Regions from separate parts of the Homo sapiens genome. Here regions 2 and 3 are each linked to region 1. The links are contacts of gene promoters, found by promoter capture Hi-C in blood cells and fetal thymus (Javierre and others, 2016). All regions are on one chromosome and are shown on one strand. Each heading gives the region's core, a stretch centred on a gene start or on the middle of the fragment in contact. The rest is flanking DNA. Distances are from core to core; before and after follow the strand shown.

Evidence for each region. Contacts are between HindIII fragments. The CHiCAGO score rates a contact against its expected background, and 5 or more counts as called.
Region 2: a fragment that was not itself captured here is called in contact with the fragment with the promoter of PODXL2 in region 1 in 1 of 17 cell types (neutrophils); the score reaches 5.4 in neutrophils.
Region 3: a fragment that was not itself captured here is called in contact with the fragment with the promoter of PODXL2 in region 1 in 1 of 17 cell types (neutrophils); the score reaches 8.9 in neutrophils.

What each region holds. Positions count from the first base shown.
Region 1 is chr3:127,627,582-127,631,175 of GRCh38, forward strand. PODXL2 (podocalyxin like 2) reads left to right here and starts at 1,604. Exons shown (of 8, transcript NM_015720.4): 1 at 1,604-1,708. The coding sequence starts at 1,639. It overlaps LOC107986126 (a long non-coding RNA gene), which reads right to left and starts at 1,382. Exons shown (of 2, transcript XR_001740892.2): 1 at 1,225-1,382. RefSeq lists silencers at 1,537-1,606, 1,717-1,846 and an enhancer at 2,247-2,306. The HindIII fragment of the contact is 9,170 bases long and covers 1-3,594 here.
Region 2 is chr3:127,847,461-127,851,054 of GRCh38, forward strand. All of the region lies in intron 4 of LOC107986129 (a long non-coding RNA gene), which reads right to left. The region is part of intron 1 of LOC105374096 (a long non-coding RNA gene); the gene reads left to right. Among named protein-coding and RNA genes, the nearest start is that of MGLL, 27 kb to the left of the region's middle. The HindIII fragment of the contact is 3,417 bases long and covers 209-3,594 here.
Region 3 is chr3:127,828,020-127,831,613 of GRCh38, forward strand. No RefSeq gene overlaps it. Among named protein-coding and RNA genes, the nearest start is that of MGLL, 7.3 kb to the left of the region's middle. The HindIII fragment of the contact is 9,678 bases long and covers 1-3,594 here.

The DNA.
Region 1 (3,594 bases), core at 354-2,853:
GTTCCATTCACTTAAAAGAGAATGTTTCTAATGTTTCATCATTAAGTATGGTTTCACCATTAAGTATGATAATAAAGGTTTCTGGGAGATACCCTTAATGGAATTGAGGACGTTTCCTTCCATTTCTTGTTTGCTTCTAAGATCTTTGTTTCTTGTAACAGAAAAACAAAACAAAACACAACAAAAAACCAAAGGGATGCTCCTTTCATCCTCAGAGGAGGAAAGAAGAGGGAAGCTGGGTCTAGACACACCCTGGATTTCTCTTTTCCAAGCCCAGCTGACAGCCACTTTTCTAGTACCCCTAACACCCACCAAATAAAAGGTGCTACATTTTGCTCATGTTCTTTCTTTTGTCTGGAACCCATTTCTTCCCTATGCTCCTCCACCCCAACTCCTATTTCTCCTAAGTATTAATATTTAGTCTGGAAGAGTCCCGTGAGATTATCTCCAATGTCTGATGCTATACCCCTGCATAGGGGGGTGGGGATATACTTTGAAAAAGCATATTCAAATAACGATTTGTTATTTTAAAGAAGTGTTTTCCTAATATGGTATATATAAAGTAACATTCCACAAAATTGTGGTTGCTGTATATTTAAGCTGCAGTACTTCTAAAAGGGTAGTCGGGGTTTTTCTCTCCCTAAAAGAGGCTGAGCTTCTTTCTAACTCAGGAACTCTATCAGTGAGCTTTTCCCTCTGCCTTGTAAGTTCTCTCCCAAACCCAATCTCCTACCTAATACCCACTCATCCTTCCAGATGCCAGCCAGCTTACCTTAAATGCTGTTTCTTCAGGAAGGCAAGCATAAGGTTCCCCTCTGTGCTGTCTCCTAGCCCCTTATACTCCTTAACAGACCGACTACCAATTGCAATCATAGGACCATATGTGTGTCCATTTTGTTTTTCAGTCTGTTTTCTCTACGAGCCTAAACTATGAGGACGAGGGATGTGCCTGTTTTATTTACCACTACAGTGCTTGGCATATTAAGGATCTTCAGTTGCCAAAAGGGAGCACATGTTAGAGAAGTCAGCACCTCTCTCATAATCTAAAACCCCCCAGTTAGCAAATGGGGCAAGTGGGGCCCAGAGGTGAGAAGAGATTTACTCAAGGTCTCGGAACCAATCTGATCCTGAGCCAGACTGCCTAGCTCTAAAGTCCAGTTCTTTGCTCTCAGGTTCTCCTTCAGGGCTCACCCAATCTAAGTACCCTGAGAAGTCTTTCCTTACCCCAGGCCTCTGTCCACCCTCACAGTCATTTCCACGCGTCGTCCTCGTCCCATCAGTCCCATCTGCCACAGCTGCCCACTCTGCTTCCCAGGGAACGGGTGACCGCGCGGGGAGAGAGCGGCATCCGGGCGCGAGGTGCGAGGCCCAGGTCTGCGGGCGGCCGGGCCAAGCCCCCGAGCCTCGGCGGTGCTGATTGGCCGGCCTGGCGGGGGGGACGGGCGGAGGGACGGCCGCCCGCGCGTCCGCTTCGTCTCCGCGGGGGCGCGCCCGCGGCACGCGGCCGGGCGGGGCCGGGCGTGAGTGACGGCCATGCGGACCAATGGGGCGGGCGCGCGCCGCCGCCGCCGCCCGCGCGGCCCCTGACGCGGGCCCGGGCGCCGCGCCGCTGCGGCTGCAGGCGGCGACGGCTACACCATGGGCCGGCTGCTGCGGGCCGCCCGGCTGCCGCCGCTGCTTTCGCCGCTGCTGCTTCTGCTGGTTGGGGGTGAGTGCGCTCCGGGCCCGAGCGCGGGAGGGCGGGCGGCGGCGTGGGCGCGGTGCTGGACAGCTCCCCGGGCCGCCAACAAAGGGGCCAGAGTGCGGCGCCGCCGGGAGCGCGCGTGTCCCGGCCGGGCCGCGGCGCCGCCCCGACACACGCGCACGAGGAGTGGGTGCGTGGGGGCCGCGGCGGGCGCCTGGCGTGCCGGGCGACCCCCGACAAAGGCGCGGCGGTGAAGCTGGGACACAGCACCGTGGCCCCCACGCCGCGGCTCTCAGGGGCAGGTGCGCAGGCTGCTGCCTCGCGGGCCGGGGGGGCGCGCACGTGTGGGTGTGCATGTGTGTGCGTGTGCTTGTGTGTGTGCGAGTGCATTGTGTGCCTGCGCACTCGGGGGAAGAGGCGTGTGTGACAGCCACGCGGGGAGGAGGCCGCATTGTGAAGGTCCCAGGGGCCGCCTGCGGAGTGTGGGGCGGGTACGCTGAGGCGCGGGTGGCTGTTTACGCGTGGCGTTGCCGGGAGGGAGTGTGAGTGTGTCACGGTGAATGGGTATTCTCTCCTGTTCTGGGCGACTCTATTAGGAGCTGACAAAAACGGGCGTACAGCCACGGAAGGCCCGTGACAGCACACGGCGGGAGGCTCCCACGCAGCTCACACACGAGGGAGGTGTGAGACTCAGATGTGTGGTTTCCATTCAGCAGCCACGCCGGGCGGCGGGCTGTGTGGGTGCGTGGCGGGCTGGGGGTGTGGCACAGGTGTGAAAGGGATGTGTCTGCCTGAGAGAGAAAGAGACGGGCCTCCTGATGGCTTCCAGCGCAGACGGGGATTTAGTGGAGGGGGTGTGTAGGGAGGTGGGCATGGGGTGTGACAGCCCATGAGGCAGGCGGCCACTATGGAAATGGCGGGGAGAAGGGCTGTCTGCAAAGGTGGGTCAAATAAGGTCATAGCTGAGCAGCTCCTGCACACACTGGCAGAGCAGAGGGAGTGTGTTACGGTGTATGTTAAGGTGTGACTGGTGCTGCTGGAGGAATACCCGGATGAGGAAGTGTGCATGTGTGCCTGTGCACACTCATCAGCCAGCTGTAACTTCACTTCTGATGCACACGTCAAAATAGCGTCCTAGTATGATGTGTGTATGTGCATGTAGGAGTGTGTATGTGCATGTAGGAGTGTGCACAGGACATTTCCCACGCAGCTGGCCCATGAAGACACAGGCACTTTGTGTCCAGATGTGTGTGAGTGAAAGAGAAACTAGTGAAGGGTCTCTATGGGAAGGGAGGAACAGTCTTTGCCTGAGGTGGGCCATGAACCTGGGACTCAGAGTGGCAGAATCCCAGGGTAAATGGCTGGGAGGGGAAAGTGGTCCCTCGCACATTCCTGTGCATGTCATGGGAAGGCTCAGTTCAGGGAGGGTACATTTTCTCCACAGTCAGTCTAGGGATGAAGAAAGGCCCTAGGTGGTGTGCACAGAAAAACATGTCCATCAGTGTTGGCTCAGACACTCACACAAACCCACCTGTATTCTTTCACGCCGTAAATCCTCTTTGGAAAAAGGCGACATTCAATAAATAAACATCAATTGATTGGTCTGCTATTTCTTTGTGTGACAGTCATAAACCAGAACTGGCCAGCAACGTCCTCATGGACCCAGGCCCAGCTGTAACTGCCCATGTGCTTATGTGACCAGCTGTGAGGACTGCAGGCAGCCTGCCTCCCGGCTCCTCTCTCCCGTGCATGCTCTTCATGACGCACTTCTTACCCCCTGCTTGGAGGGCATGTGCGTGTGTCTAGCAGTGTGTCTCTTTCTTACACACCTTTGTGTGGAAGCCCTTCAGGGACCTGTCAGCATTGTTTCTCAGGTGCTTACAGAGTGGAGGTAGCGTGACTGTGCTCAG
Region 2 (3,594 bases), core at 667-3,166, 220 kb after region 1:
AGTGAAGACAGCAGGGCGACAAGCACTCAAAACAAGCCTTGCTTTTCCAATAGCCCAGGCATGGCCCACTCAAGTGATCACCTGAGGCAGCAAAGGCATCTACACAAGAAGACACAATCATGCATTCACTCTGCAGATCCATCCAGTGCCTCCCACGTGCCAGGTGTTGGGGATACAGCGAGAATGAACAGGCGCCCACTCTTATTGAAGCTTATGTATTAGCTCAAGGAGACAGAAAATTAAGCAAAAAGCACATAAATGGATAATATAGGCATTCTATGGACTTTAGTAATGCATGCCCAGAGAAGGGAATCCGTGTTCTCAGTTAATTTTTAAAATCCTCAGTTAGAGGGATGAGCTAGACAGTGGATTTTTTTCTGAGAATAATTTCAGGATATTTACAAATTAAGGATATTTAAGATAAATCTCCATAAAAATAAAATCCATGCTCAACATGAGAACAGAGAGGCCATCTACAGGAGTGTTTAAAATGGGGCAGATTCAGTCCCAGAGGGTTTCCAGATGAGTTCTGAGACACATCCAGCAGCGTGCCATGGGCATGGAAGGGTTCTAAGACTTGCATACAAGTTGTGTCAAAACCTAGAAAATGCTAGAATTATATTTCTAGACAGGGAAAATTAATTTTGAATAACAATATTAGTGTTAGTACAAAATTAGTATAAAATGCACCTGCAGACTTGCTGGAGTTGGTGTGATATCTGACACAGAATCAAAGCAAAGCATGACACTCACTGGATCAGAACACTCTAGCCTCAGAAGCCCTTGAACTCTCCAGCGTTCCAGGGCAGGAAATAGCGCTCATCTCTTTGTTAGCTGTGAGCACGCCTGAGCATTTTCTGGAAACTGCTAGTACTGCAGTCCAGATTGCCTGCTCTGAGCTGAAAGAAGACAGAGAGAGACTGAGAAAAGCCTTTGATTTAAAATCCTGCAGTCGCTGCAATACCAGAGCGGGTGGGTCTATGGCAGGATTGTTTTGTTAAGGAGACCTGACAAATCTGCAAAGCAGGTTTTCACGCAATGTATAATGAATCCCCTGGCTTATGTATTATGTAATAGTAGATTTGTGCTCGTTGAGTTTCTGTAGGAGGAATGGGTGTGCTATTCACAAGTGTTGTCTTAGCAAAGAAGGAAACACTTTTTAAAAGAATGAGGATCTGTATGGGTACACATGTAATTATATCATCTGTGTTCATTCATCCAGTCACCAAAGATTTCCTAGTGCCTTTTACAAAGTTAGTGCTGGGGATTCAAACCTGCAGGAAATTAGGTCCCTGATTCTAAGGAAACTTCAGTCTAGTTTGAGAGATCAACACAGCAGCGAATAATTAGGGCACCACAGGGTAAATGCTAAGAGAGCTACAGACAGTTTCATATAGGCTCAAAGAGGAGGAAGTAATGAATCCTGCCTGGCAAGGGATAGGAGGTAGGGAAGGCTCCAGGAGGAGTGGGTATCTGGGTGGAGCGTGGAAGGTTGAGCAGGAGTTTACCAGGCAGAGGAAGAGAGGGGAAGAGAGGAAATGGCCTATGCAAGGCTCATCAGCAAAAGCATGTGTGGAGGTGCCAGCTGTGCTTAGAATGGCAGTGTAAGTGGACTAGGACAGTTGGGAGAAGATGAAGTTGATTTGGCCTGGGGTATTAGTTTGGACATGGGTTCAGCTGTCCTAAACAATGTTCCCAAATCAGAGTGGCTTTAGAAAGAAAGATGTGTATTTCTCTTACATAATAGTATGGGCATGAGCAGTTCAGGGCTGGTAAGAGGCTTTTCAGCGAGAAACCCCAGCTCCTTCAGCCATCCCAGGACACGGCCCCATCCACATGGTCCCATGTGGGGCTCACTCACCCTTGCACATCTGTGTTCCACCCAGCCATGTCCCTAGTCACAAGGCATTCCCTATTCACCTCCACCATTGCTATATTTACAATACAGTCTTCACCTCGTCCACCTTCTATGCTCCAGATGAAAGGGGGAGAGGGAGGACAGGCCTCTTTCCTCTAAGGATGTAGCTGGGAATTGTACATGTGGCTCACATGGTGTGCCGACATGATGGAGCCTGGCTATAAGGAAGGCTGGGAAATGTAGTTCTTATTCTGGGCAGCCATATGGGCAGCCATCTGCCCAGCTAAAAATGGGAGGTCCTATTTCCATGTGAAAGAAAGGGAGCTGGGATGCCAAGAGGCCATGAGCAGCCCCGCCTTTTCGTGCCTTTGAGTGCTCTATTAGTGATCTCTAGAATGCCTTTGGGAAAGCCAACATAACGTGCTTCAATTTTCTGCTTTATTTATTCTGACATGCTGACTTGTTAGTGACAGTCTGATTTCTCAAAACTAGAATTTTCAGGATTTAAGAGGTTACTCGATGTCAGCAAGTAATAAATGAGCGCTGACCCAAACATCTGCTTTGGAAACAGGAGCTCTGACATGGTTTTAAAGACACTTTCCACCATGTCTGGCCAGTGGAGGTTTTTAGAGTCCCAGGGTATTCCCATTGCCAAAGTTTACAGAAACAAGTCAGGCACCATTTCCACTGCCCCAGACTAAGGAGATGGGAACAGACTTCTCGTTAGGGTAGGGCAGGGAAATGACACAGATCATGCGTCTGACTCCCAGTATACCTCTTAGGGTGCCACCTAATCTTTCTCAGCATCAACTACCTCATCTGTAAAATGGGGATAAGGATGACTCTCAGGTTGACAGAATTAAGTGAGATATTATATGTGACCTGTAGAGAAAGTCCAACAGACTTTGGGAGGCTGAGGCGGGCGGATCACAAGGTCGGGGATCGAGACCATCCTGGCTAGCATGGTGAAACCCCATCTCCACTGAAAATACAAAAAATTAGCTGGGCGTGGTGGTGGGTGCCTGTAGCCCCAGCTACTCGGGAGGCTGAGGCAGGAGAATGGTGTGAACCTGGGAGGCAGAGCTTGCACTGAGCCAAGATCGCACCACTGCACTCAAGCCTGGGTGGCAGAGCGAGATTCCATCTCCAAAAAAAAAAAAAAGAGAAAGCCCAACAGATATTTGCTTTTCTTCTATTTTGACTGTCAGTTACTATGTGCACAGCACTTGGATAGAAACTACAATGCAAGAAAGGATTTAAAAGCCTGGTTTCTTGCAAAGAGGGAGGGCTCTTTGCATCTCTACCTCTACTGATACCTTAATGAAGTGATCAATCCTATTTCTTTTTTTTTTTTTTTTTTGAGACGGAGTCTTGGTCTGTCGCCCAGGCTGGAGTACATTGGCGTGATCTCAGCTCACTGCAACCTCCGCCTCCCAGGTTCAAGTGATTCTCTTGCCTCAGCCTCCTGACTAGATAGGATTACAGACGTGTGCCACCCCACCCGACTAATTTTTGTATTTTTAGTAAAGACAGGGTTTCACTATATTGGCCGGGCTGGTCTCGAACTCCTGACCTCAAGTGATCTGCCTGCCTCGGCCTCCCAAAGTGCTGGGATTACAGGTGTGAGCCAACGTGCCCAGCCAGAGCAATCCTAATTTGGGCAATAAAGGAGCAAAGAGGCATCATGTCCCACCTGTTGAGTTACACTGGGGGCAGAGGATCACTTCTCTGGTATT
Region 3 (3,594 bases), core at 709-3,208, 200 kb after region 1:
ATTTACATTTAATGTAATTATCATATTGTTATGGTTTAAGTCTGCCATTTTATTTTTATTTCGGTTCTCTCATTTATTTTTTCTTTTTCTTTTCTTCTTCTAGGTTACTTGCACAGGAACTTTTTCTTGTTTTGTTTGGTTTGGTTTGGTTTTGAGATGGAGTCTCGCTCTGTTGCCCAGGCTGGAGTGCAATGGTGCCATCTTGGCTAACTGCAACCTCCGTCTCCCAGATTCAAGCAATTCTCCTCTCTCAGCCTCCCAAGTCTGGCTAATTTTTGTATTTTTAGTAGAGATGGAGTTTCACTATATTGATCAGGGTGGTCTCGAACTCCTGACCTCAGGTGATCCACCTGCCTTGGCCTCTCAAAGTGCTGGGATTACAGGCATGAGCCACCAGGCCCAGCCTGTTTTATTTTGTTTTTGAGACAGGGTCTCACTCTGTTGCACATACTGGAGTGCTGTGATGCAATCACAGCTCACTGCAGCCTCAACTTTCTAGATTAAGTCATCCTTCCACCTCAGCCTCCTGAGTAGCTGGTACTACAGATGTGTACCACTGTGCCCAGCTAATTTTTTTTTTCTTGGCAAAGATAGGGTTTCACTATGTTGCCCTGGCTAGTCTCAAACTCCTAGGCTCTGAGCCTGCCTGCCTTGGCCTACCAAAGTGCTGGATAATTATAGGCATGAGCCACCAGGCCTGGCCAGGAACATTTTTAAATTCCAGTTTTATTTATTTATACTGTGTTTGAGTGAATCTCTTTGTATAGACTTTTTAGTGGTTGCTCTATGTACTGCATTTTATGTATCACAGCTTACTGATGCCACTTTACTAGTTCTTATGCAATATAAAAACCTAACATCTTCTTATGTCCCTTTACTCTGCACCATTTATACTCTAATTGCCTTAACTATTTTCTCTACATACTCTGAGATTCACATCAGATAGTATTAAAATTTTTGCTTCAATCATCAAATATAATTTAGAAAAGAGGAGAATAAAAGTCTATTTTATTTGCCCATAGTTTTGTTCACTGTGTTCTTTCTTCATGATAGTACAAGGTTTCTTCTTTTATCATTTCTTTTTGGTTTAGATATATTCCTTTAGCCATTCTTTGAGGATGGGTCTGCTGGCAACATTTTCTTAGTTTTGCTTTATCTGAGAATGTCTTGATTCCCCTTCATTCCTGAAGGATATTTTCACTACATAAAGAATTCTGGATTAAAAATTATTTTCTTTCAGCATTTGAAAAATATCATACCATTACATTCTGGCCTTAATGCTATCTGATAAGATATCCATTGTCATTCAAATTTTTTTTCCTTATAAGGAAATTACCTATAGGTAACATGTAATTTATCTTTCCCTGCTGTCAAGATTTTTTTCTTTGTCTTTAGTTTTCAGAAGTTTGACTATGATGTTTCTTGGTATGGGTTTCTTTGGGTATATTTTATTTGGAATTCATTCAGCTTTTTTATTTATAGTTTTTTTTTGTCTCCTGCCAAATTTGAGACATTTTCAGCCATTACTTATTTGAGTACTTTTTCAGCCTCATCCTCTTTTCTCTTCTCCTTTTGGACTCTGATGACATGAATATTTGAGCTTTTCTTATAGTTCCGTAGGTCCCTGAAGGCTCTGTTCATTTTGGTTTTTTTTTTGTGGGTTTTTTTTTTAAGCCTATTTTCTCTCTGTTATTCAGATGAGTCATTTCTATTGTCCTATGTTCCAGCTTATTGCACTGTTCCCTCTATTTCACCTTTGAGCTCATCCATTGAGCTTTTTATTTCAGTTATTGTATTTTTCAACTCTAAAATTTCCATTTGGTTCTTCTTTATATCTTCTATTTCTTTGCTAAGAATTTCTATCCCTTTGCCAAGACTTTTTATTTTTCATTTGTTTCAGGCATGTTTATAATTGCCTGTTGGAGAACTTTTATTGTGACTGCTTTAAAAATCTGTTTGTTTTCCTGTTGGTATATATTGTCTTCTCTAATCCAGTGTTAGATCTTTCTGGTTCTTGATAAGATAAATGATTTTCTATTGAAACTTGGTCATTTTTGTATTATGTCATCAGACTCTGGATCTGATTTAAACCTTTTGTTTTACCTGTGTTTCTCTAGAGTCACAAATGTATAAGGCAAAACAAAAAACCCAGGGAACTCACCACCATGTTGTTCCTCAGGTCCTGAGGTCCCCAGCAGGTTTGCCTTTTATCTCTTCCTTTCAGCATCCTCTTACGTTGGTTGTATACATAATGTCCAGGGTTTTTAGTCATATTTAGTGGGAAAAGTAGGGAAAAGCACATCCACTCCACCTTTGCAGATGTAGAAGTCTTGTATCTGGCTTTTTATTTCAGTAGGGAAATCAGTGGGCCACCAGGCCCCTACTTGCCTGTGTGTCCACCTAGATCTCTAGGGCAGGATTATTCTAGATGCAGTGATCTCCAAGACAAGTGCTGGTTGTCAGGCTCTGCTCCTACAGCCTGCGATGAAAAGGTAAGGGTTGCAATTCAAGTAAAGGTGACGTCTTTCTGCCCCTACAAGTTGATATGGTTTGGATCTGTGTCCCCACCAAACCTCATTTTGAACTGTAATCCCCAATGTTGAAGGTGGGGCCTGGTGGGAGGTGAATGCATCATGGGAATGGATTTCTCATGAATGGTTTAGTGCCATCCCCCTTGGTATTGTCTTGGTAATAGTGAGTGAGTTCTCGTGAGATCTGGTTGTTTAAAAGTGTGTAGCACCTTTCCCTCTCTCTCTTGTTCCTACTCTGGCTGTGTAGGACGTGCCTGCTTTCCTTTCACATTTTGCCATGATTGAAAGTTTCCTGAGGCCTCCCAGAAGCAGAAGCCACTATGCTTCCTGTATAGCCTGCAGAATCATGAGCCAATTAAACCTTTTTTCTTTATAAATTACCCAGTCTCAGGTATTTCTTTATAGCAGCATGAGAATGGGCTAAAACACAAATGTTCTTGTGTGGCCTTCAGAGATGCTCTGAGGTTTGAGGAGAGTAGAACATACTGGAAATACCTGTGAAGAGAAAAGGAGAAAGAGCAAGCCGGGAGATAGTAAGAAGACCAAGAGTTTCTCTTATTAGCAGTTTTAGTGTATGTGATATTGCACAAGAATTTGGGTGGTTGTATACTTCAATTATAAACCACTTCTAATGGGAAAGGAGTGGAGGTTGGGAATGGAAATGGTACTGAAAATGAATGATAGAGGAAAAGCAAGACTGTACTATCAAACTTAAGGGGAAATAAAGTTGGGCAAAAATACCTAAGCCTCAGAAGCAAGCTCCACTGACTAGTGGTGCTACTTCCTGGTGAGTTACTCTATTTTGCTAAGCCTGCCTCCTCACCTGAAACAGGGGAATGTGGATAGGAATACCCCCTCTAGGGCCTTGGTTAAGATGGACTGAACATCAGCATGGTGCCTGGTGGCTAGTCAGCTTGTATTAAGTCAGGGGTGGCAGCTTGGGGGCCTTCATGTTAAGTCTGACCCATTAAAAAGTATTTCTATATCTGAAATGGTTTTTTTAATGTGAGTTTTAAAAATTGGTGATTTCACATGCAAATCCAGATTCCTAGCTTTTCTCAAA